Linked DNA regions of Homo sapiens: regions 2, 3, 4, 5, 6 and 7 are each linked to region 1. The links are contacts of gene promoters, found by promoter capture Hi-C in blood cells and fetal thymus (Javierre and others, 2016). All regions are on one chromosome and are shown on one strand. Each heading gives the region's core, a stretch centred on a gene start or on the middle of the fragment in contact. The rest is flanking DNA. Distances are from core to core; before and after follow the strand shown.

The links. The method cuts DNA at HindIII sites, captures the fragments that hold promoters and counts their contacts. A CHiCAGO score of 5 or more calls a contact.
Region 2: a fragment that was not itself captured here is called in contact with the fragment with the promoter of DNAJC19 in region 1 in 1 of 17 cell types (naive CD8 T cells); the score reaches 6.0 in naive CD8 T cells.
Region 3: a contact is called between the fragment with the promoter of PIK3CA here and the fragment with the promoter of DNAJC19 in region 1, in 3 of 17 cell types (naive CD8 T cells, activated CD4 T cells and total B cells). The highest score is 9.2, in naive CD8 T cells.
Region 4: a fragment that was not itself captured here is called in contact with the fragment with the promoter of DNAJC19 in region 1 in 1 of 17 cell types (total CD4 T cells); the score reaches 6.9 in total CD4 T cells.
Region 5: a contact is called between a fragment that was not itself captured here and the fragment with the promoter of DNAJC19 in region 1, in 1 of 17 cell types (naive CD8 T cells). The highest score is 7.7, in naive CD8 T cells.
Region 6: a contact is called between a fragment that was not itself captured here and the fragment with the promoter of DNAJC19 in region 1, in 1 of 17 cell types (total B cells). The highest score is 5.2, in total B cells.
Region 7: the fragment with the promoter of ZNF639 here is called in contact with the fragment with the promoter of DNAJC19 in region 1 in 3 of 17 cell types (monocytes, naive CD8 T cells and non-activated CD4 T cells); the score reaches 5.6 in monocytes.

What each region holds. Positions count from the first base shown.
Region 1 is chr3:180,987,989-180,991,550 of GRCh38, forward strand. DNAJC19 (DnaJ heat shock protein family (Hsp40) member C19) reads right to left here and starts at 1,748. Exons shown (of 6, transcript NM_145261.4): 1 at 1,612-1,748; 2 at 190-241; 3 at 35-108. The coding sequence starts at 1,614. The HindIII fragment of the contact is 8,604 bases long and covers 1-3,562 here.
Region 2 is chr3:182,852,473-182,856,034 of GRCh38, forward strand. The region is part of intron 10 of ATP11B (ATPase phospholipid transporting 11B (putative)); the gene reads left to right. Among named protein-coding and RNA genes, the nearest start is that of ATP11B, 61 kb to the left of the region's middle. The HindIII fragment of the contact is 5,370 bases long and covers 1-3,562 here.
Region 3 is chr3:179,146,719-179,150,280 of GRCh38, forward strand. It overlaps PIK3CA (phosphatidylinositol-4,5-bisphosphate 3-kinase catalytic subunit alpha), which reads left to right and starts at 1,639. Exons shown (of 21, transcript NM_006218.4): 1 at 1,639-1,885. PIK3CA-DT (PIK3CA divergent transcript) reads right to left here and starts at 1,255. Exons shown (of 3, transcript NR_125401.1): 1 at 1,198-1,255. RefSeq lists enhancers at 354-463, 1,074-1,193, 2,003-2,502, 3,064-3,113 and silencers at 1,684-2,153, 2,214-2,263. The HindIII fragment of the contact is 3,906 bases long and covers 1-2,887 here.
Region 4 is chr3:182,818,788-182,822,349 of GRCh38, forward strand. It overlaps ATP11B (ATPase phospholipid transporting 11B (putative)), which reads left to right. Exons shown (of 30, transcript NM_014616.3): 2 at 1,473-1,589. Among named protein-coding and RNA genes, the nearest start is that of ATP11B, 27 kb to the left of the region's middle. The HindIII fragment of the contact is 7,894 bases long and covers 1-3,562 here.
Region 5 is chr3:182,800,412-182,803,973 of GRCh38, forward strand. The region is part of intron 1 of ATP11B (ATPase phospholipid transporting 11B (putative)); the gene reads left to right. Among named protein-coding and RNA genes, the nearest start is that of ATP11B, 8.7 kb to the left of the region's middle. RefSeq lists a silencer at 2,010-2,304. The HindIII fragment of the contact is 402 bases long and covers 1,838-2,239 here.
Region 6 is chr3:182,679,661-182,683,222 of GRCh38, forward strand. No RefSeq gene overlaps it. Among named protein-coding and RNA genes, the nearest start is that of LINC02031, 37 kb to the left of the region's middle. RefSeq lists silencers at 2,602-2,671, 3,082-3,151 and an enhancer at 2,822-2,871. The HindIII fragment of the contact is 2,704 bases long and covers 515-3,218 here.
Region 7 is chr3:179,321,337-179,324,898 of GRCh38, forward strand. It overlaps ZNF639 (zinc finger protein 639), which reads left to right and starts at 1,695. Exons shown (of 6, transcript NM_001303426.2): 1 at 1,695-1,955. RefSeq lists silencers at 1,425-1,864, 1,895-2,034 and an enhancer at 2,605-2,654. The HindIII fragment of the contact is 4,241 bases long and covers 1-2,790 here.

The DNA.
Region 1 (3,562 bases), core at 498-2,997:
AAATAGAAGCAGCAAAGAATTAACAAAGTCTTACAGATTTTGGTAGGCTTTGAAAAACTTGTTTTACTTGAGGCTCCATATGCTTCATGGCTTGCAAAACGTAACGGCCTAAAACCAAAAGCAACAGAATAAGTAAACTAAATCTCCAATCTCCCCGACTTCACTTCCATCCCCAAACCATAAACAAACCTGCAAATCCTGCAGCAGCAATGGTCAGTCCAACTGCTACCACTGTACTGGCCTGGTAAGGGGGAGAAGAGTAAATATTTACTTCTCTAATTCCCACCCTTTCTCATTTTGCCCATTCTTCCATCCCCAACTCATTACAAACTGCATTTTAATAGGAGAAACAACTTTTTTTTTTCTTTTTTTTTTTTTTTTTTTAAGAGACGGAGTCTTGCTATGTTGCTTAGGCTGGTCTTGAACTCCTGGCCTCAAGCAATCCTCCCACCTTGGCCTCCCAAAGTGCTAAGATTATAGGCATAAGCCACCATGCCTGGCAGAGAAACAACTTTTAAGGCGGAAATATTCTGTCCAGTAATCTTTAAAACTACTGCATCTGTTATGCTGAATGCATTAAAGTTACAGGATTCATCATATGGGAAAGAGGGCAAGTTCGACTTGCTTATTTATCTTTACAATAGTGAAAAAGATGATTCCCTCCCTTTGAAAACTTCTTTCATCACCAGACAAATTAAGTCACATTAAAGTTCAATCAAAAGTAGTGGAAATAGGCCAGGCGCGGTGGCTCACGCCTGTAATTCCAGCATTTTGGGAGGCGAGGCGGGCGTATCACTAGGTCGGGAGATCGAGACCATCCTGGCTACCATGGTGAAACCCCGTCTCTACTAAAAATACAAAAAAAAAAAAAATTAGCTGGGCGTGGTGGTGGGCGCCTGTAATCCCAGCTACTTGGGAGGCTGAGGCAGGAGAATGGCGAACCCGGGAGGCGGAGCTTGTAGTGAGCCAAGATTGTGCCACTGCACTCCAGCCTAGGCGACCGAGCAAGACTCTGTCTCAAAAAAAAAAAAAAAAATGTGGAAATAAGGTTTCTGCTACAGAAGGAAAAACTGTTTACAGACGGCTCCTGTAAAATTCTAACAACGCATTTTCGAGGCTAAACGTGGGCTAAACTAGGAGACTAATACCTTTGGCACTGCCCTGTTGTTTCCTAACAAGACAGGCCCAAATATGTTCAGGAAGCATGGAGAAGACATCTGTCAGCAAAAGCCAAAGAGAAGGACATAGCAAAGTGGAGCTAGTGCTGTGAAGATGTGTTAGGGCAAGGGCACTTATAATCAAATACGTTTCCACTAATCTCCGAGTCCATGACAGCCTCTGACCTTACAGGAGTTCCAGGCAAGCAACACCTGCAGAGCCCGTGCGGACAAGAAGCTGGAGAACCGTGCAGAAAGACGATGTAAAAACACAAACCCCCAAGAGAGCGAGCCAACAGGGTTGTGTCCTGGTGAGTGTGACTCCCCAATAACCGAAACCTCCCGCCCGCAGTCGCACTAAGGAGCACAACTTCAACTCCACACCTCCGAGGCGGGGAGCTGAGGTTGAGGCCTGGGCCGGAGGTCGCCAAGAAGACCGGAAGGCCGCACTCACCATGGCTCCGGCTGGGCTCCCTTGCTTCCACCGGGAGCACGGCTCATCCCAGCTCAGAGGCCGCGGCCAACACCTGCACGCCTTTACCAGAGAGCGACGCAACCCCCAACCTCAAGCACAGGCGCCCTACGCAACACGGCAGGAGCAGCCGCAAACTAGGCCGGAAAACTGTCGTAAAAGGGGACGCGGAGGAGAAGGAAAGTCGCTCAAGCAGTGGACAGAGCGGAGAAAGCGACTTCGGGTTGGTTGAAGGGTGGGCGGATCTCTTTATTTCTGGGTGTAGGGGTGGGGCTTCTCTGTGTTTTCTGTCCTTTGCTCCTGGGCGGTGGGTATTTGGAAATTCTTGCAGGGAAGGGCATGGGCAGCCTTACTCAGACCGATTTTTTCCCCCTACATCTTAGCACCTCGTTTTGCCTTTATTTTATGTTAATAATTGTCAAGGGTAATGAATGTAGTTAAACATGCTGTGACATTTCCACCACGAACCCAAACAAATATGTTGTAACCCAGTGTAGGAAACGAGATGCCCAGAAAAACAAATGAAACCAACCACACTGTGTTTCAGGGATTGCTCGGTAGCATTTTTTAATGTAAAAGAACTTCATTTAAGGATGTGACTTGACAAGACTTTGTGAATATTTGGGTTTTCGTTTTGTAGAATGGGATTAAAGACAGTTCATATTCTGAACATGGAATGTCAAGATCCTACAACTGAAAAGGGCTATTTAAAAGTTTTCCTCCTCACCCAAAATAAAAAGTAGGGCTGGATTTTGCCCTTACGTGGACATCAGTTTCATACATCCCTACATAAATGCTTGAGAAGAAAAAAATAATGGAGACAATAATGGAATTTTACAATGCAACGTTTGCATGATCAAAATAAGTTTGGAGTTACTTCCCACTCAGAATTTACAGTGTTAAATATCCGTTTACATTGCAATGCAATTCTGCTTTGATGAGTTTGTTAGTTATTAAACAAATATGCAAAATTTTTGGGTTTGTTTTCCTCATCTGTAAAAGCAGTTTGCATTTGATAATCCAAGAGCTCTTCTAGCGCTAAGGTTTTTGTGATGTAATTTATTGTCAACACATGATTTAAGGTGACATCCAGCACTAAGACACTAGCATTAAGTTTATAACTTCCTCTTTTGCCTCTCTTTTATCTGGTTTTTACCCAACAATTACAAAATAAATAATCAAGTGAGGCATAAGACCTTGGGACCAAATTGGCATCAACAAGCTAGAATGCTATCTGGAAAAATTTATTATGCATATTTTTGGTATGTACAAACTGTGTAATGCAGTTTCTGGAGGAATAGATTTACAGTAGACTCTAATTAGCTTTGAGACTTTACAAAACCCAGACTCAGGAAATTGGGAGTAGCAACACAGCAAGACATTTTGTTGAGCTGGAGATAGCTCTTTTTTTGGTGGCAGATCAAACTGGAGGTAACCTGGCTCTGTCACTTACTAATACTGTGACTTGGAAAAGTTATTTCTGATTGAGTTTCTTCCTCATTTGTAAAATGAAGGTAATGATAACTACCTTGCCGAGTTTTTGTGAACGTAGAGATTATGCACATATTGTGTTCTGCTTATGGTCATCACTCAGTGTGGGGCTATTATTATGAGGGAAGCCAGAGTGCAAATTGGAGTGTAGAAGCCTTCCTCATTCTCATGATACCTCACTCATGAATCTTAAGTCTGGTTGCCTCTTACCTACCTGCCAAGATCCTAGAAACAGCCTTGAAAAGTAATCTTTTTAAATGTCCACTGACTGATGAATGGATAATCATTCCTCATTTCTTCTAGCTTCTGGTGACTGCCAGCATTCCTTGACTTGTGACTGAATCACTGCAGTCTTGTAAGCCAGCATCTTGAAATCTCACTCTGCTCCAACTTTTCCATCTTCACATTGTCCTTCTCTTCTGTTTGTAAAATCTCCTTCTGG
Region 2 (3,562 bases), core at 450-2,949, 1.9 Mb after region 1:
AATTTAGATGAAATGGGCAGATTCTTTGAAAACACAGGTAACTTACCAAAATTGGCCCAAGATGAAACAGAAAGTCTAAATAACCCTTAAGTCTGTCAAATAGCTTTAAGTTATTATTTAAAAATGTCTCCACGCTAAAGATTTGCCTTTTCAACACATGGTGCTAGAACAGGTGGACGTCTGTATGTCAAAAATTCAATCTTCACCCTTACCCGTCTCCCGCATATACAAAAACTGACTCAAAGTGTAAGATCTAAGCATAATAACTAAATCTGTAAAACATGGGAGAAAATCTTTGTGACTTTGGGTTAAGTAAAGATTTCTTAGATGGGAAATGTACGGAAAAGGAACCACCAAAATTGATAGCTTAAACTTCATCGAAATGTAAGACTTAAACACTTAAAAAGGCACTGTTTATGTTGTGAAGATGCCAGAAACTAAAACAAAAAATTTAAAAATACAAGCCATAGACCAGAGAAAATGTCTGCAAAGCATATATCTTGTAAAGGACTTGTACCTAGACTATCCAGTCTCACTACTTTTTAACATTATTCTAGAAGCCTCATTCAGTGCAACAAGTTAAAGGAATTAAAAGCCATAAGTACTAGAAAGCACGAAGTAAAATTGTCCTACTGGAAGACACATGATTTTTCATGTAAACAGACATAAGTATTCAATAAGAAAACTATAATAAGCAAGTTGGTCTCAGAATACAAGGTAAATAAAGAGAAACCTTTTTTATTTTTATTTTTTTGAGACAGAGTCTCACTCTGTCACCAGGCTGGAGTGCAGTGGTGCGATCTCGGCTCTCTGCAACCTCCGCCTCCCGGGTTCAAGCGATTCTTTTGCCTCAGCCTCCCGAGTGGCTGGGACCACAGGTGCGCGCCACAACACCCAGCTCATTTTTGTATTTTTTAGTAGAGACAGGGTTTCACCATGTTGGCCAGGATGTCTTGATCTCTTGACCTCTTGATCCGCCTACCTCGGCCTCCCTGCAGGTGTGAGCCACTGTGCCCGGCCAATAAATCATTTTTATATCTTATAATAGTAAGAAACAGTTAAGAAAATGAAATTTTTAAAAGGTTATATTTACAGTAGTATCAAAAAGCGTAATATATTTAGGAATAAGTTTTTTTTTAACTTGTGCAAGATTTATATAATGAAAATTACAAAACATGGCAAGATAAATTAAGAACTAAATAAATGGAGAAATCACATTAATAGATTGTCAAGCTCAGTATTGTTAAGCTGTCAGTTACTGTGTAGATTCCCTCAGTCTCAAAATCACAGCAATCTTTTTGTAGTAATTGACAAGGTAATACTAAAGTGTATATTGAAATGCAATAGCCAAAATGCATATTCAGATGCACAGCAAAAACAATCTCTTAAGAAAGCTAAAAGATTTACCTTACCTGATTTAAATACTTAATATAAAGCTACAGTAATTACAGTATGGTATTAACAAAGATGATAGTTCAATAGAATAAAATAGAGAGTTGAGAAGTAGACCATTCATGTGTGGGTTTGTTGATTTTCAACCAAGTAACAAGTCAATTCAATGAAAAATTTAGTATTTTCTACAAATGATGCAGCAATTGGATATTCAAATGAGAAAAACATGAAACTTAGCTTCTGCCTTATGCTGTACTCCAAAAAGTTTTGAAAACAAGTCATAGACCTAAATATAAAAGCTAAAATTACAAAACTTTTAGAAGAGCTGGGCGCGGTGGCTCACACCAGTAATCCCAGCACTTTGGGAGGCCGAGACGGGCAGATCACCTGAGGTCGGGAGTCCGAGACCAGCCTGACCAACATGGAGAAACCCTGTCTCTACTAAAAATACAAAAATTAGCCGGGCATGGTGGTGCATGCTTGTAATCCCAGCTACTTGGGAGGCTGAGGCAGGAGAATCACTTGAACCCTGGAGGCGGAGGTTGTGGTGAGATGAGATCGTGCCATTGCACTCCAGCCTGGGCAACAAGAGCGAAACTCCATCTAAAAAAACAAAACAAAACAAAACAAAACAAAAAATACTTTTAGAAGAAAACTTAGAAAGATATCTTTATGACTTAGAGTAGGTAAAGATTTCTTAGGATACAACAAATATAATAATTAAAAATTGATAAATTACACTTTCTCAAAACTAAAAACTTCTGCTCATCAGGCTAAACATTTAAAGAAATGAACATACACGTTACAAACTGGGAGACAATATTTGCAAAACATGTATCTGACCAAAGACTTGTATCCTGAGTATATAATATATATGTGCATGTGTTTACACACACACACACACACACACACACACACACACACACACACACACACCTGCCTACAAGTCAACAATGAAAAGAGAAGCTAATTAAAAAAAATGGGCAAAAGGTGGAAGGTAACCACCTTTTGTCATCTTTTCAGCTGAAAATTACAAAACACTGAGGAAAGAAATCAAAGATCTAAATAAATGGAACAATATATCATGTTCATGGGTTGAAAGATTCGTACGGTAAAGATGCCAGATTTCCCAAATCGATTAATAGGTATAATGCAATTTCTATAAAAATCTCAGCAAGTTTTTTTGTAGAAGTAGAAAATTTATTCTGAAATTTAGATAGAAAAGCAAAGGAACAGTTTTGAAAATGAAAAATAAAGTGAGAAGAATTGCTATTGATGTTAAGTGTTACTATATAAGCTACAGTAATCAAGACAATTTGGTGTTGGTTAAAGAATAGATACATAGATCAGTGTTACACAATAGAGAACCCCAGAACAGACCAACACTAATAGGCCCAATTGATTTTTGGCAACAGCACAAAAGCAATACAATAGAGGAAGTGTAATCTTTTTCAACAAATGGTGCTAGAACAATTGGATACCCATAGCAAAACAAACAAACCCAAACCCCCACTGTATGTAAAAATTAATTCAATTAGAGTATAGATTTAATGTAAAACAAACTTTTAGAAGAAAACAGAATCTTCAGGACTTAGTGTTAGACAAAGAGCTAGAAGACATGACACTAAAAGCATAATTCCTAAATCAAAAAAATTAATAAGTTGTAGTTAATCAAAGTTAAACACTTTGGTGCTGTGAAAGACCCTCTTAAAAGGATGAAAAGACAAGCTACAGACTGGGGAAAAATACTTGCAAACCACAAATCTTCCAGAGGCTTTATGTTTAGAAACATAAAGAACTCTCAAACTCAATAGTAATTCAGTGATCCAATTAGAAAATGAGCAAAAGGCATACTTCATATTTCACCACATGCATAATACATATTTCACCAGAGAAAAGCTGCAGATTACAAATAAGCACATGAAAAGATATTCAGCATCATTACCTGTTAGAGAGAAGCAAATTAGAACCACATTGGGATATCACCACACCCATTAGAATAGTTAAAATAGTGATAATACCAAATGGCTAGGAGGTGGAGAGACTGAATCTCTTATATGTTGTTGGTGGGAATTAAAAATAGTATACCCACTCTGGAAGATAGTTTGGGAGTTTCTTACAAAACTAAACATGTTTACCATATGACCCAGCAGTTGCACTCTTGGGCATT
Region 3 (3,562 bases), core at 389-2,888, 1.8 Mb before region 1:
TGGCTCAAAAAAATAATAATAATAAATAAATAATAAATTTTATAAGGAAAAATATCCCTAGTATATTTTTCCCCACCAAGGTCTACCTATTAATATCTCATATAACTCTGTGCTTGAAACACAATTTGGGATATATTGCCTTAAAATTTACTTTGACTAGCAATTCAGTGTTCCTTTTTTAAAAAAATCTGTACTCTGGAGTAACAGTGTTCTAAAACTGTTGAAGAACATTGGTTCGAGAAAAACATTTAGAAACACAAACCCCTGGAATGTGAGATGAAAATCCGAGCTAAAGGGAGAAAAAGGACGAAAGAAAGAAAACACAGAAAAGAAAGAAATACAGTCAAGTGAAACTACGACCACAAAGAGGAACAGATCCATCTCATTTACCATTGGGGTATGGACGGACGTGCGGTGTTCGAGAAGACTGTTATTGGTCAGAGTTTTGCTCTAGAGGACAAGTAGGACTGTAACATCTCTAGGATGGGTCACTTCCCAAGCCCTCTATTACTTAAAAATTCAAGGAGGAACCGATGCTGGAGTACTTGTATCTCAGACTTCTAATCACTGCTCCTACGCTTTTCCAATATTACAACAAAAGACCAGTAGGGGGAGAAAAACGCACAGTACCGAACCCTTATCAGTAGTAATCTCAAAAGTCAACAGATTGATTTACTCTCAAGCAAACAGACTTCTAAGGTACGCAGCACCAAGACACTACCTTGAATCAAATCTATAGCCTATATGACATTTCTGAAGTCTCTGTTGGCATTACGCGAAAAATCCCCCACGTCTTCTGAATAGTTAGAATTGAATCCTACAAGCTGCTTCGAATCAGAATTCGATTTAAAAAAAAAAATGAGGGCATAGCAAAAGGTCTCCACGAAGTGAGTCAAAGGACTGCAGAGGGCTGTGACAGTGCATTCCGCCTTCGGGATGGTATACAACTTAAACCATGTCGGCAGAAGAACGCACAGCAACGCTTTGTAAAAAGCATTCTTTCTATTATAGAATCCATAACCACGCTGGTTAGCCACTGACAGCGGCGGTTAGCCACCGCACCTCCTCTCACCCCCGAACTAATCTCGTTTCCTCTATGGGTGTAAAAGTGAAATAACCCACTTGCTCCCAATATTCCTTTCTATATCTCTACCCCAGCTCGCCTGCTGCTCGTAGAAACAAATATACTACACGTACGCTGTCCTAGGATGACACAACACCCTCACTACTGCAGAAGACGGATCATTAAACAAACGTCAGAAGAGCAGCCCCAACTGTACATAAACTTCGGGCGGAAAAGCAAGACGCAGGCGCAGTAGCACATATTGTTACCCTATTTGCCCACTCCCTGCTCCTCCTCGCCTCAATTTCGCTTCCGCTTCTTTGCGCATCTGCTTCCGGGGGATTGTAGGCTCTGCCCCTCCTCAGCTCTTACCCTCTTCTGCCGGAGGAGGGGGGGGGCCGAGGGGGTGGGGAAGAGTTCGTTGTTTGTTTACACGATGTGAGCGGAAAAAGAGACCAATAAAGTTTATTCTGGAAACAAAAGGAAAAAAAAACAGGGGCGACGGAGAAAGGAGTCGGGGGCGGGGGCGTGTGGCGGGGGCTAGCGAGGAGAGGGAGCGAGAAGTAGAAAGCGGCAGTTCCGGTGCCGCCGCTGCGGCCGCTGAGGTGTCGGGCTGCTGCTGCCGCGGCCGCTGGGACTGGGGCTGGGGCCGCCGGCGAGGCAGGGCTCGGGCCCGGCCGGGCAGCTCCGGAGCGGCGGGGGAGAGGGGCCGGGAGGCGGGGGCCGTGCCGCCCGCTCTCCTCTCCCTCGGCGCCGCCGCCGCCGCCCGCGGGGCTGGGACCCGATGCGGTTAGAGCCGCGGAGCCTGGAAGAGCCCCGAGCGTGAGTAGAGCGCGGACTGGCCGGTAGCGGGTGCGGTGGGAATGGGGACCGGGTGGGTGCCGGAGACTCCCGGGCGCGCCCGCCGTGTTGGGCGGAGGCTACGGGCTGGTCGTCTCCCAGCGTCGGCCCGCGGCGGAGTTCGCCTGCGATCGCCGCACCCTCTCCCTCGCCTGCCTCTGGCCTCTCCTAGCTGCAGAGGCGAGGGCTCGCCGCTCCCTCTCCTTTCTCTCTGGCTGCCGCCTCGCTCTTCCTTTGCTTCTACTCCCAGTTTTGGGGACGGGGCGGCTGGAGGTTGAGGAAGTGCGCCCAGGGCCGCCGCCCCGGCCGCGGTGGCTCTGTCTCCCGCGCCCTGCACGCCCACCCAGCCCGCGGGTGGAGGGGCTGCCGCGAGGACTGCGGCTCAAGGGACGCGGGCGCGAAACCGCGAGCTTTTCTTGAGGGGCTGTCACGCCCGAGGACTCCGGCCCCGCCAGCCTGGCGGCCCTGCGTTTGCCTCTTACTGGGTTTAAATCGCCCGGCAGGGGTATGGAAGGAACACCGCTCCCCTCACCCCCGCCAGCTCCCCTCCCACCCTTCCTTTCGAGGTTGTTTTTTCCTTTTAGCTGAGACAAACGCTTAGATCTTTCATTCATAGACCTGAGACACTGACTCATGTGACTTGTCTCTTTACTAAGTGTATTATGTGATGCCTGTTCCATGGCTCTTAAGTGGCTCGGAAAGGTAGGGTAGGGCCCGGGATTGGGCTATGTAAACACCAGACGTTCAGCCGGCGTGTTTTTGACCTCGGCTCGAGGGGTTTATTTTAGGATGCTAAAGGAATAGTGATGGTGGCCAACCGTGTTACCAGACTTGGGAATCGAAAGCTATTTTTTTATGTCAATAATTGAGACTGTTTACATGGTTAAATAAAGGGTAGGGTAAAGGGAGCGCAACAAGAGGGTCTTTCTAGAAAACAGTCTGCATATTCTTTAATGAATTAGAGTTGTGATTTCATCTTGGTGAAGCTTCCTCATTCCAGCACTGCGCCTTTGTGCACATGCAGGACCTGGGTTTTCGGAACGATGTTTTGAATCATAGTTTGTGTGGCCGGGGAGAACCCCTTAGAATACTTGGGTAGGTAAATTCCAGGTTATCTCAGGGGATTATTTCTACTGCGACTTTTGAACCACTGAGGGCAATATTGGTCATATGTTATCCTGCTTAGAAATTGAATTTTTCTGAGTATTTGCTTACATTGCACCGTACAAAATTTGTTTATGTGCTGGATTGCGTGTTTTAAGAAAACTTCTGGAAAATACTCAAAATACCGTGTTGCTAAGTTAGTTTGGATAAATCAAAACACTTTGCTTTCAAAGCAACTACAGTCTTAACAATTTAACGTGTCTTTGTATTCAGGTTTTAAGTTTTTGGTGTTTTTTTTTTTTCCTTTTAACTGAAGCACTGAGGTCCGATTGACAGCATAGATCTCCATCTAAACATCACATGTTCTGGAAATTTTTAATTATCAGATTAACTGTTCTGCAGTGTCATCAGCCAAAATTATCTGAAGAGGACTGTGTGTGTTTACGTGTGTGTGTGTGTGTGTGTGTGTGTGTGTGTTGGTATTTTGCTTAAGTTTTTTCATCTCACATTTTGGGACAAAATAAAACTTCATAGCTTTTTTCAAAAGTTTCTTGT
Region 4 (3,562 bases), core at 620-3,119, 1.8 Mb after region 1:
AGTAGGTTACTAAATTAGAGCGTTTACTAATATCTAAAAATGGATCATCATAGCTTATGAATACCCAAGTTTTATTGACCTTTTAATAACTGCTTAGTAGTACTAGTAAATAGCCCATGACCACTATGTAAAAAAAAAAAAAAAGAAAAAAAGAAAAAAACCTAAGGAATTTTGAATCGTTTTCCTGTTAGAACCAAAGAAAGAAAGTCTTTCATTTGGATATTGCTTTCAGCCCATCAGTGGGTTCCCAAGATCTGCCAAAAGAGTCTTTTTTTCTTTTTTCTAATATTTCTTTTTTTTTTTTTTTGAGACGGAGTCTCTCCCCGTGTCCCAGGCTGGAGTGCAGTGGCGCGATTTCGGCTCACTGCAAGCTCCGCCTCCCGGGTTCCCGCCATTCTCCTGCTCAGAGTAGCTGGGACTACAGGCGCCCGCCACCACGCCCGGCTAATTTTTTTTGTATTTTTTAGTAGAGACGGGGTTTCACCATGTTGGCCAGGATGGTCTCGATCTCCTGAGCTCGTGATCCGCCCGCCTCAGCCTCCCAAAGTGCTAGGATTACAGGCATAAGCCAGCGCGCCCGGCGTCTTTTTTCTAATATTTCAAAACCCTAGACAATATGCCGAATGTTAAAGTGTCTTGAAGGTTCACTTGCAACTGTGGAAGTGGAAATACAGTCCTCTAAGAATAAAGTTTCAGTGTTCTTGTTACCCGTGAAATCTTTTCTACCAGAGGTGATTACTAATATGCCTTGACAGATGGTCTTCTCAATCTGAGGTCAGGATATGAGTTCCCAAAGGCCAGGAATTACAGCATATTCATATCTCTATTTCAGTAAGTCAATTGATACTATAATGGCTCAAATAAGTGATTGTGTGGAATGAGTCTGGGCAAGACCCTACCTAATGCACTGTAAGTCATCTGGGAACAAAGCTCTTTGCAACCAAGTCAGTCTGGGGATGGAAAAAGTAAAATAAATATAAACCTTTGCCATCAGATGTGGTAGGTGCTTATTAGGCTGTAGCTACACAGGACTTCCACATCACTGAGTAGAAATCCATCCATAGAAATGAAAGGGAAGGAATGCAGTAGGGATAGAAAATTTGTCCTCAAATACTTCTATAGGTCTCCCATATGATTTTTTTTCAATATAGTAGTATTTCTGACAGAGAATGAACTGTTTTTCATTACTAAAGGCATTACCTAGTTAAGTTTCTATCTGGAGATAATGTACCTGTTTACCTGTGAAAGAAAAAAAAATAGTAAAGTTTCTATCTGGAGATAATGTACCTGTTTACCTGTGAAAGAAAAAAAATAGGTGGCATAGCTCTTCTAATTAGATGGATTGAGTCTATATGCATTTTAAGGGCAATAGTAATATATGTAATCTGACCAGCTAAATAAAGCTAACAGTAAAGTATCATAACTAACCTGGTTGACTAGTATTTCTTTTTCTCTTGCTTGATTGGTCTTAGGGTTTTGACCCACCACATCAGAGTGACACAAGAACCATCTACGTAGCCAACAGGTTTCCTCAGAATGGCCTTTACACACCTCAGAAATTTATAGATAACAGGATCATTTCATCTAAGGTAAGAATTAAAATTTTTATTGTTAGGCCAGGTGCAGTGGCTCATACCCATCATCCCAGCACTTTGGGAGGCCAAGGCGAGAGGATCGGTTAAGCCCAGGAGTTTGCGACCAGTGTGGGCAACATAATGAGACCTTGTCTCTGCAAAAAATCAAAAAATTAGCCAGGTGTGGTGGCACACCTCTACTGACAGCTACTCTGGAGGCTGGCTTCAGCCTGGGAAGTCGAGGGTGCAGTGAGCTGTGATTGTGCCACTGCACTCCAACCTGGGCAACAGAGTGAGACCATGTCTCAAAAAAAAAAATTATTATTAAAACTGTAGATATGGATCATTTTATTTTTAAAAGTGATTATATGTGTGTGTGTGTATTTATTTATATCCTTACAAATTCAAGAAAACGGTGGTCGATTTATCTTAACCAAAATGGTTAACTGTAGAATACAAGGAGTGGCTAATTGCTGATATCAGTAGCCCACATGCCAAAAAATTATCTTTAGTTGCTAGTAAACTAAGGAACTAATATTTATGCTATGTACCAGAAACTATATTAAGTACTTCTCATATCATTTAATCCTTACAACAACCCTATGAGATAGCTTTTATGAAATCTATTTTACAAAGCAGTGTTATACTGATTTTAAATCAGTTTCCTCAATTGAAGTCCTAGGAAATGGAATAATTTTCCCAAGGTTGCTCACTAGTAAATGGCTAGATTGGATTTTTGGGGTTTTTTTTGTTTGCTTGTTTTTTTGAGACAGAGTCTCGCTGTGTCACCCAGGCTGGAATGCAGTGGTGCAATCTTGGCCCATTGCAACCTCTGCCTCTCGGGTTCAAGCCATTCTCTGCCTCAGCCTCCCAAGTAGCTGGGATTACAGGTACCTGCTACCATGCCCAGCTAATTTTTGTATGATTAGTGGAGATGGGATTTCACCACCTTGGCCAGGCTGGTCTTGAACTCCAGACCTCATGATCCACCCACCTCGGCCTCCCAAAGTGCTGGGATTACAGGTATGAGCCACTGCACCCGGCCATAGATTGGAATTTAAACTCAGTTCTGTGTTGCTTTAAAGTCTGCTTCCTCCAATTTTATCACTCATTTGTACACATTTTATGGTGCCAAAGTACAGCTTCACTCTTATATATTCTTCCTTGTTTCATTTTTTCCTGTGGCATTTTTAAGTTGTCTTAGGTTATTCTGAAGCTAAAGACTGTAGAATAGTACTTTGCAGTAGACTTTTCTGTCATGATGGAATTGTCCCATATGATGGCCAATAAATTATACAAGGTTATCAAGGCCTTGAAATATGGCTAGTGCACTCAGAAACTGAAGTTTAATTTAATTTTTATTTAAATGTCAGTAGCTACATGTGACTAGTGGCTTGGACGGTACAGTTATAGAGGATATGAGTCAAAGAGACTGAGGGTAAAGTTTTCCTTATATCATAACTATTGCCTGAAAGGGCACCTTAAGAAGCATCTTTGCATTGCTCCTTCCCTCTCTTCTAAAGCAACTAACATCTTTTCTCTAATCCTAACCTCGTCTTTCCCAAGGATGTTGTCTTAGGTCAGCAGTTCTTTGCCCTGCCCCATGTTGCTGCCTTCACATTCTTTATGTGTATAACATACCCTTAGTGCCATCTCTCGTTTTGGATGATGGTTCTAAAGCAGAAAGTAGGAAGAGGAGATGTCAGAATCCAGGATAATGGATGAGCTTTAGATTAGTGACACAGTTCTTTTTTTTTTTTTTAAATTATTATTATACTTTAAGTTCTAGGGTACATGTGCACAGCGTGCAGGTTTGTTACATATGTATACATGTGCCATATTGGTGTGCTTCACCCATTAACTCGTCATTTACATTAGGTATATCTCCTAATGCTATCCCTCCCCCTGCCCCTACCCCACGAGAGGCCCCAGTGTGTGATATTCCCCATCTTGTGTCCAAGTGTTCTCATTGTTCTGTTCCCACCTAT
Region 5 (3,562 bases), core at 789-3,288, 1.8 Mb after region 1:
AGGTGGGGGTCTCACTATGTTTCCCAGGCTGGTCTCAGACTCCTGGACTCAAGCGATCCTCCTGTCTCAGCCTCCCAAAGTGCTGAGATTACAGGTGTGAGCCACTGTGCCCAGACGATGTTTGTATTTAATTTTTTTGCATATATGGTTATAATGCATTCAGTAAACATTCACCTGTATTGTGAATGACATGCATTGAATTTCTGTTACTTCTCAGCACTTGGGAATGGCTCTGAGGGAACTGTTTGACTCTTGGGTGTGCTTAGGAGAAAACTAGAACACAAATTTTTTTGCTGACTGGCTCACTTAAAATTGTACAATTTTTAATTTTCGTATTTTCTTATCCTATACATGGTATTGGCAAATTCTTTTGATTTTTTTTTTTTTTTAAGACAGTCTCGCTTTGTCACCCAGGCTAGAGTGCAGTGGCGCGATCTCCGCTCACTGCAACCTCCGCCCCCCACCCCCCCCAGCCCCGCCCAGATTCAGGTGATTCTCCTGCCTCAGCCTCCTGAGTAGCTGGGATTACAGGCACGTCCCACCATGCCCAACGGATTTTTTCGTATTGTTAGTAGAGACAGGGTTTCGCCATGTTGGCCAGGCCAGTCTCGAACCCTGGACCTCAGATGATCAATCCACTTCGGCCTCCCAGAGTGCTGGGATTACAGGTGTGACCCATCCCACCAGGCCTTCCTTTGAAATTTTTAGCATGTAGTTTATCCTCCTTAACATTAAGTTATGGCTTATGCAGATAATCATACTTGTTTCTCTTTAAAACTATTAGATTGTCCAAAATTTAGATGAAATACCAAATTAAGGATATTAATTAGTTAAGCTGTGTCTGTCTCCACATTTTAATTGGAAGTGAAGTTCCCCCTCAGGAAAGGAGGAAGAATAGGATGATATGCATAGGTATCAATCATTCATTCATTCACGTACATTTTGGAAAAGTTAGGAACAGAAACAGATGTTGTATATATGTAGCTTATTCTTACTGTGTGAAGCCGGTAAAGCTGGTACAGGTTATTTTTATTCTTTCTTTAAGCATTATGTTATAGAAAATTTCAATCACCTGCAAAAGTAGAGATAATGGTATAATGAGCCCCTTTATGGTATAAAGTTGGGCAAATGGTATAATTTATCCTTTACCCAACTTTTACAGTTATCGGCACATGACCAATCTTGTTTTATCTATTCCCCCCACCCACTATCCTCACTCCCTTTAGTGATTTTGAAGCAAATCCCAGACATTATATAATTTTACCCATAAATATTTCTGTATTTATCTCCAAAATCGCTTCTTCCTTTCCTTCCATTCTCAAATTCTTATTTTTACAAGTGTAGAAATTTTATTTTATGTCAGTTACATCAGTGATTATTAATATAAGTTAATGTAAAACTCTCCCCTTAACTCTTGATTTAATTCAGTTATATTAATAATAAAAGGTACATGCATAATATGTATTGCTAATAAATTTACTAAGAATCTGTCAAATTCTAAGCAGGAGATGTAGTTCTTTAAAAGTCAACTGCTCTTTTTCTATGGATACCTCTGTGGGGAGAAGAAATCAAAGAAAGACACATGAATCAAAAAATGCTTTGCTTCAAAACATCATGTTGTGCACCATAAATATACAGAATTTTTGTCAATTTTTTAAAAAATGCATTTTAAAAAGTGTTTTACTTATAACATGAATACATCTAAGTGTTTGGGGAGCAAATCGTATCTCCCTTTTTGTTGTTGCTAAAAATGATATATCCAGAACCATTTCTCTCGTCTTTCTCTGCCACCACCCTCAACTAAACTACTGCTACCTCTTACCTAGATTATTGCAAAAGCTTCCTAGTTCATCTCATTGTTTCTCCCCTTCTGTCCTTGCAGTCTGTTTTCAATATACCCACCAGAGTGATCTTATTAAACAGGTTAGATCATATAATTCCTCTGCCTAAGATTTTCCAAGTGCTTGCTCTTTTGTTCAGAGTAAAAGCCAAAGTCTCTGCTTGATCTGTATGCCAACCCCTACACTTCTTCCAATCCATTTCTCATCCTCCATCACTATTCTCTCACTCTTTATTCACACTAGCCTTATTGCAATTCAGAAGTCCCAGGCATACTTCAGTTTTAGGAGCTTTGTCCTGACTGTTACTACCTCTACCTGGAATGTTCTTCCTGCAGACATCTGCTGGCTCCTTCGCTCCTTTCAAGTCTTTATTCAAATATTGCGTTATTCATGAGTGAAGCTTTTTCCAGCCATTCAGTATAATGTTCTGACCCTCCCCATTACTTCCCTGTTGCCTTTCCTTGCTTGATTTCTCAGCACTTAATGCTATTTAACCTACTCCAAAACTTGCTAGTCTCATTTATCTCAGGAAGGAAGGGATTTTGTCTGCTTTAGTTTTGTTCTCCATTTAACAAAAGCCATTTCTCAACTCTGCATCCCCTTTTAGGTGACACCATTTCTTTCTCATGTATTGATGAATTGAGTCATTTTCTGTAAGTGAATTAGTTTTCTGTGATAGCATATTTGTTGCTAGGCTTTGGAACTACCAAAATGAAGTAATCCCTGCCCCAGCCAATCTTATGGGGGGTTCTTTTTTTCTAATGTATATTCGGATTGTTGCCAATTTTTTCCTGTTACAAAAAGTGTTACAATGACTATTATTGTTTATTTATTTATTTATTTTGAAGTTAAATACCCAGAAGTGGAATTGCTGGGTCATGGGTCACGTACATTATGACTGTTACTAAATATTGCCAAAGTATTTTCTAAAACAGAGTTCTCCTTTCCCTACATCTTGCTCAACACTTTGTACTGTCAGACTTGAAAAAACGTACCAGTCTGATGGGTGTGAAATAGTGTCTCATTTTGTTCTAATTTGCATTTTCTTGATTGCTGGTGAGATGCAGGTATCCTCAATTTCATTCACATGAATAGATTGCCCGTTTTCCATTGGGTAGTTTGGCCTTTCCTAATTCTTGCTATAGCCTGGATGCCAATTCTTTGTTGTATATGTTGTAAATATCTTCTAGTCTGTTCCGTGTATTTAATTTAGTTTATGGTATCTTTTTTTATACAGAAAGTTTAAATTTATTTGTAGGTAAATTTATTAGACATATGATTTCTGCTTTTTATTACATATTTGACAATTCCTTTGTTATACTAGGATCATAAAGCTGTTTTTCCAGCGTTTTCTTCAAATTGTTTTAAAATTAGTTTTTTAACATTTAGATCTTTAAAGATACCTGGAATCAATTTTTGTATATGGAATAAGGAAGGGAATTTGTTTTCTCCCGTATAGAAAGTTGTGTCAATGCTGTTTATTGAATGAGGCATCCTTCCTCCACGAGTCTGTGTTGTTTGCCTTCTCTGTCATAAGTGACACATTTAGGACACGTACCAGCATTCTCTTTCACATACTCTGTCATATACCAGCATTCTCTTTCATATACCTTGGTCTCATTCTAGATTCTGTATTCCATTTCATTCATTTCTTGGTGCACAAATAATGCTCTGTCTTAATTATAGTATTTTAATGATAAGTCTTGGTATTTGGCAGGCAG
Region 6 (3,562 bases), core at 617-3,116, 1.7 Mb after region 1:
ATGAAAGCACAAACCATGTCTGTCTTGTCCACTACACACGCTTGGCTTCAATAAGTATTTATGGAATGAATCCATGAATGAAAAGTAGGCAGAAAGAAGCATGTCAGTGTTGACTGGAGTTATCCAAGAAAACTCCAGGAACTCAATGGGCCTTGAAGGATAAATAGTAGTAAACTAAAAAGAACCTGATTGAGCTAAGAGCTCTCCTCTTTTTTCTCACTGATATTCCTGGCCTCCTTCAGCATCTTCAAAAGGCAAACGAATAACTCCAAAAGCAATTGCTAAATGCTTATTGAATGGAATAAGTTAATTGTGAAACAATTCCAAGTGACGTATATCATTCTCAGTTGAAGTTATAAGTTTGGGGTTCACTGAGGCTGTTTTTGGTCTAGTCACAAAAGCAACGGTGTCCCAGTTAGAGACTGCCCTATGTCTAGAGTAAAACCAGAAATGAAGCAGAGCCACAAGAAACCCAAAGAGGTCTTGATGTAAGCAAAAAAGTCTACTTCAAGCAAGCTTCTTTCCCACCACTAGGCCTCAAGCCTAACCTAACAAAAAGTACACGGAAAGTGAAATCCTGTTTGCTTTTGTGACTTAAATCCTGTAGCATTGCCTTAGTTTTTAACTTCTGTACCATGCTTTTATTTCTGGTAATATTTATCTTTTTAAAAATAAATCTAAGGCATAATCTCTCTCTCCATTAGATACCTGTTATGGACTGAATTGCATGCCCCCAAAATGAATATGTTGAAGTTCCAACCTCAGTACCTCCAAATCTCACAATATATGGAGATAAAGTCTTTAAAGAGGTCATTAGGTTAAAATCAGATGTTTAAAGGGTGCTTACCCAATATGACTTGGGTCCTCATAAAAAGAAGAAATTTCAACAAAACATGCATGAACAGAGAACAGGCCATCTGAGGACACAGCAAGAAGTTCATCTGCAAGCCAAGCAGAGAGGCCTCAGAATAGACCAAACCTACTGACACCTTCAACTTGGACTTCTAGCCCTCAGAACTGTGAGAAAATACGTTCGTATTGTTTAAGCCATCTTGTCTGCAGTGTTTTGTTATGGCAGCCCTGACAAACCAATAGAATATCCATACTCATAAAGTTTTTCATTGTTGCTGTGTCAAATAATTATACCCATTTCCAACTCATGGTCCCCAAAACTTGTCACTTCAACCAAAACCAGGTGAGATATAAAAGGGAATTACACATTCAGTTGGAAGGAGATACATACAGAAAACCCCTTAAAAACCGGGATCTTTTTTCTATTCATATCTTTCATAATAGTGAATCAGAAAAAGGTAAATTAAAGGTTGTTTGGGAAATTGACAGATCTTTCTTTGGTATGATACCAGGCTCAAGATCCTGTGCTTGTCAGACTAAGACTAAGATTGTACTACCTTTTTACTCCATGTGTTATATCCTGAAAAAAATTCCAAGTCCAGGGAAAAACTTGATAAATAGAAGAATGAAAATGTGCTGTCCAAAATATGTAAAAATACCACAAAACAGATTGTAGAGTATTGTCTATAGCCATTTAACTTGCATGTGTGATAAAGAGTATCATCCAAATATAACCTTATGAAATTTTTTTTAACTTCTAGAAGTCAAAAAGTACCCAAACACACACACATACACACAAACTTATGCTTTGTAGACGGGAGGGAGGTTTGCCATATGTGCGACAAACCGAAGGTTAAATCCTTATTACCTAAAACACAGCTTATAAATTCATAAGAAAAAGATAACTTATCATAATAAATGAATAATATTAAGCAATTCACAAAACAAGAAATTCAAATGTTCTACTAACTTTTTATTCTTTTATTCATTCAATCAATATCTATTGGGCATTTGGTATGTGCTCAGCATAATACAAGACACCAGGTACATGGTGATGAGCAAAAACTGGCCCTTCTCTGTAATTATTCGCAATATAATATTAAACCCAACTTACAATAAAAGAAATTCAAAATAAAATGGTGCCAGGGAATAATCAGACAAGTGTAGAATTGCATACAAAAATATTAATTGAGCTATTATAATAAGGAAAACTTGAAACTACCTTAATGTTTATTAATTCACTGTAAGTTAAATAAATGGATATAGACACTAAATTTGTCCCTAAAAATATGTAATGTCATTGGACAATTCCCACTGCAAAATATGATGGAAAAAAGCATGTGATACTGATGTTTAGATATATGCAAATTTCATATTTTCTACAGTAAAAGTATTATTCTAATAATTAAGGAAAACGCTTTTTAAACAACCAACATGAATGCTTTTGACAGGGATGCCATCGTGTAAGTTAATTGCCAAATAAACTAAATAAACTTTTTTTTTTACTATTATTCTTCAGTTGACAAATAAAAACTGTATAATTTACATTGTATGACATAATGTTTTGAAATATACATAAATATGCTTTCTTGGATGCTCACAATTTGGGTACACTTTGGAGCATACTGGAAAATGCTCCTAACGTTGGAAGCAACACAGTCCCCTTACTTGAGCGATAAAATGTTACTTTGTTCCTTAAATTAAAGAAAGGTTCGAAGTTTAGTTTGACATTCACCTCTGCCTTTATAAAACAAACACAGCCTATAAAATAACTTAAACGCCCAGAGTGCCGAGTTTCGTCGGGCCCTGGCTGCGCCGGGCCGAGCCCTGCCCCGCGGAGGTCGCCGCCCAGCACGGTCTGCAGATGGCAGCCTCTCGCGGAAAGCCCCGCAACGCCGCTTCCTGCCTGGGGGCGGCACTTGGGGCCCGCGCCGGGGTTTCAGAAACCTGTTCGAGCCGTTCCTTTATGGCGGAACGTTCTTATTTAGTAAATATTTATTCCACTCCCCGAGGACCCAGCACTAATCACTGCCACTTCTCTTTAATAATAAATGGTGAACTTCAAATGCGGCAGAACTCAGCCGGCTAATCAGTGCTCGCCGGGAGGTGCAAAACTGTCTGAAGCCCACCGGTGGACATGAAAGACGGAACATTTCCTGTTCCAGCTCTCGGTGGCCCAGAATAAACTTCAGCCGAATGAGAGGATGTCTAGGCGGCCGCCCCCCGCGCGCCGGCCCGGGAGCCCGGGTTCCATCTGCCCGCGGCCCGGAGGTGCGCCCCTGCCCGCTTCGCCCCGGGGACCCTCGGAACCCGCGGCTCTGCCCTCCACACAATCTGGGCTGCCGCTCCCTTGGGCTTTTCGTGAAAGCTTCCTTTTAAATTCGCTGTTTGGTCGCAAGCCATTTAGCCCTTTCCGTGGGCCCGGGCGAGGGGCGGAGAGCGGAGAGCGACCCGAGCTCCTGGGAACCTGGGGGCTCCGCGCTGGGGACTCCAGGCCGCCCGCCTCGGCTCTGGCCAAGGGGTCAGCACGTGGGGTGGCGTTTGCCCCAGCATTCCAGCCCTTTGGTCTCCAAAGGCTTTTTGTATTCACTAGGGAAGGTAAGGGCCGCCCCTTTAATGGTTGCATTTTGGAATGTAACAAACTATGAGGACCACCCGGTACGCTTGCGTTGGCATCATACGAGCCCCGCGGTCCCACCGTCACCCACGG
Region 7 (3,562 bases), core at 445-2,944, 1.7 Mb before region 1:
GGAAGGAGAAATTAAGCTATTCTACAAGTGTGTGAAAAAGTTGGAAGAACGATGTTTTAATAGCCCTGAATCAAATTTATAATAGTATTTAACAAACTCTACAATTTAGCACTCTTGAGATTTTAGGGTTTTATCCCAGCTATCACCCTCCCTTGGAGCGGGAGATGAGGAAAAGAGGGACCCAAAAATGAAACTGAAAAACACTCCAGCTAATCAAGAACTTGAAATTGCTTGCAATTTGTGACTATGTTAAACAACATCTAAACAAAGTCAAGCTCCTCTAAGTGCAAACAATACGTGGGATGCTGGGGAGAGTGTGCGTTTACTTTCACTACAAAATGTTTTGGAGTAAAACTTCATTTTGAAATATAAAGATTTTGTTGGACACAAGGCTATGTGGTAAGGCAAAATGGTAAGATGGTGGCATGACACCCCCTTGTGGTTTCCACCGATTCCCGGTTCTGTGCTAGATACTAACTATTCTAGGATTTAAAAATGTCTCTACATTTCTTCGAACTTTAATTCGGGCCATACTAGCATTCGTGAGCATTTATTTGAGCTGAGTACGCACATAAAACTTAGGAGGTCATAAAAACTGAGCCTCACAAACAAGTAGTGTCTCTTTCAAATATAGCTTTATCTCCTGGGGGATGGTGAAGGGATCAGAGTAAAGTCTGTGATTATTACTTTCCAGCGATTGATTGGTTGATTGGCATGTGGTTGTCAGAAAAAGCAGTGGACGTGAACAAAGAGACATCATTGCAGCCCTAACTATCCGAGTGACCTTGGGTACCTGATAATCCACATGGCTCTCAGTCATCCTCTTAACCGTTTGAACCTCAGGGGTTTAGGCTACCAAAATGAATTAAGACCCAGTCTTTAGCTTCTCACACATTTACTTTTCCATTTTGTAAAATGTGACTAAAAACCTCAACTCATTGTCAAAAGGACTGAATTAAACATATCACCACACTTGCACAGAGATCATTTATGGAACCATGTTCACAAATTTATTTATGCTCGTGTAATTTAATCATTTCTACAGCTGCTCAAAGAAAGTCAAAGTCGAGAAAGGACTTAAATCGTCGAGTCCAGTCCCCCTTAACTCCTCATTCATTCCACTATTTCTCGAGCCAAGGAATCGGGTGAAACTCAACAACGACTCGCAGTCTTCAGGTTTCACCCTCTTGCCCTGAGGGCAGCATCCTAGCCCTAGGTGGTTCTCTGGTGTGGCCTCAGTAAAACCGTGACGAGGTCCTCGGCCTCTCTGTCCCCAACAGGCGGCTGGCACACTTCGGGGTCTGAGATGCCATCTGCCTTGCCTAACCTGGGCAAGACCACTCGCGTCCTTTCCCTTGAGGAGCAGCGTGGGAAAGGTGCCGCTGCGCGCCACGTTTCTCCCAGTTCCCCAGGGCTTGAAGGGGCGGTGGAGGCGGGCGGGATAAATTCGCTGGCCGCCTGGCGTGGAGTAATCCTAGAGGGTGGGATCGCCCTCGGGGCTCGGGAGGGGCTCTTCCCCGCCCAGAAGGAGACTGCGGCGGCGCAAGGCCTCCGGCAGGGGGCGCGGGCCGCTGGGCCTCCCCCGGGGCTGCGGGCCGGTGGTCCCTCCCAGGCCGCGTGTGCGGTGCGTTCGCGCAGCCCGCTCCCTGCCCCCACCTCACCTCGTCACCTCCCCGCCCTCTCGGCGGGCCCCTGAGGTGCGCGGCGCAGGCGCGGAGCGTGGCGGCCAGGGCAGTGCGGCCGCGGAGCCTAGGCCAGGGGCCTGGCGCTCAGGGCGTGGGGCGCGCGGGGAGGGAGAGGGGTCGGCCCAGCACAGCGTCCGGGAGCGCTAGGGCCGGAGCAGCGCTGCCCGCCGCCGTGCGTCCGCGGGAAGGACCGCGCGGCCCCTCCGCCTGCGCTCTCGGCCGCCGCCGCCTCTGCGTGGGCCGGCCGGGAGGGCCTCGGGGGACTGACTGGTGAGTGTGAGGGAGGAGCGGGTGGGTCGGGCGCTGGACTGCTCCAGGGGACGCGGGCGTGCGGGCGCATCTTCTAACGGGAGAGGGCGGGAGAGACCGGAGCTCCCTTTATACGGAAACTCTGCCTTCGTTATATGGCGGGATGGCGTTCCCCTCCCCCATCCCGAAGGCAGTTCCACCCCCTGCGCAGGACGCCTTGGCCGGGCTCCCCTCGGCCCCCTGCTGCCGTTGTCTTTACGGAACCTTTGGTGTCGGGGCTTGGAAGTCTCCTTGGCGCCGGCTTCTGGGCCCGGGCGAAGCTGGTGCGTGGCGCCGGGGTGGAGGCGGCTAAGTCCCAGGGACTTCTGCCCTGCGCCTCCGACGGGCATTTGTCTGGCTGCGTCCGGGCTCGGGACGATCCTGGGTCCTCGCTGGCGCTGCGGCCCTGCCCGGCGGCTTCGTGACCTCCGGCGGCGAATCCCCGGGCTCGCGCAACGAGTTGTAGCCGCGGAGAGCAGGCGTCGATGCTGGCGCCCAAAGCCTCCAGCCTGAGAGTCGCCTCACTCGTGTGACGGTGCTTAGAAACCCCCTTTTTTGGTTTTGTCTTTAAGTACTGTCTAGGGAAACGAATCATTTGAAGCAGTTTATGCCTTTTTTGTTTTTTTCGAAGAGAAAGATTTATGCCGGACTGAAAAATAGCGAATCAAGTATTTAGTGACCGTGTGATATTGCAGTAAAGACTGCCTCCACGTTGGACATGTAGTGGATTCTAGTTCAGGCTCTCCTGCAACATGTTTTTGTTTCAATTCTTTTACAATTTAAAGCATATGCTTATTTTAATGAGAACGAAAAAGAAAGCTTAACTCTTTTTAAACTCGTTAAAAATGGAGTTATTTACTGTAAAGACGTCTTACAGCAATTAGGAAGAATATACATTGCATGAAAGGCCTTTTGAAACGTTTATCTATTTGATGATTGCTGACTGCCTGTTGTATGTATTCTATTTTGTGCATAGACTTTCTTGTTGGTTGAAAAAAATGACAGGTGGAAAGATGTTGGTTTCTAGGTGATATAAAAAATTTTTAAACATTTTTCTGATTTTTCTGCAGTGACACGTGTTACATATGTCGTTTGTATTTCAGAGGGAGGGGGGACTGTGATAGGTTGCTTGTGATTCAGAATCTTCCTGCTAAGAAGACTAGTGAGCAAATGTTTATGACATCCTTGAGTAGAAAGCTAAGTTTTTTCAAGGCTGTTATGCACACAAAAGGCACATAAAAATGATTGCTAAAATGAAGGATGGTTAGCATTTTTGGTCTTGAGTAGGCATCACCATTGTGCTGAAAGGAAGTCCGATAGACATTTGGTTATCGTTCGGCCCTAAGTAGGAGTCAGACCCTTCCTGATCCGTGTGCCTCCTCCTCTCACCTAACAGCCTGAATCCAGGCCAGCTTGCAACGTTGATTTTAATACCACGCTTGGTTTCCTTTTCTTACTTTTATTCTTCAAGTTGCAAAGAACTTGAGATGCATTCTGAAATAACAAGAGACTACTTAACATGTTCGGCTGAGTGTTTTCAGTGTTCTCCCTGATACTTTTAGAGTATTTAGAACATGAAGTGTGAAGCT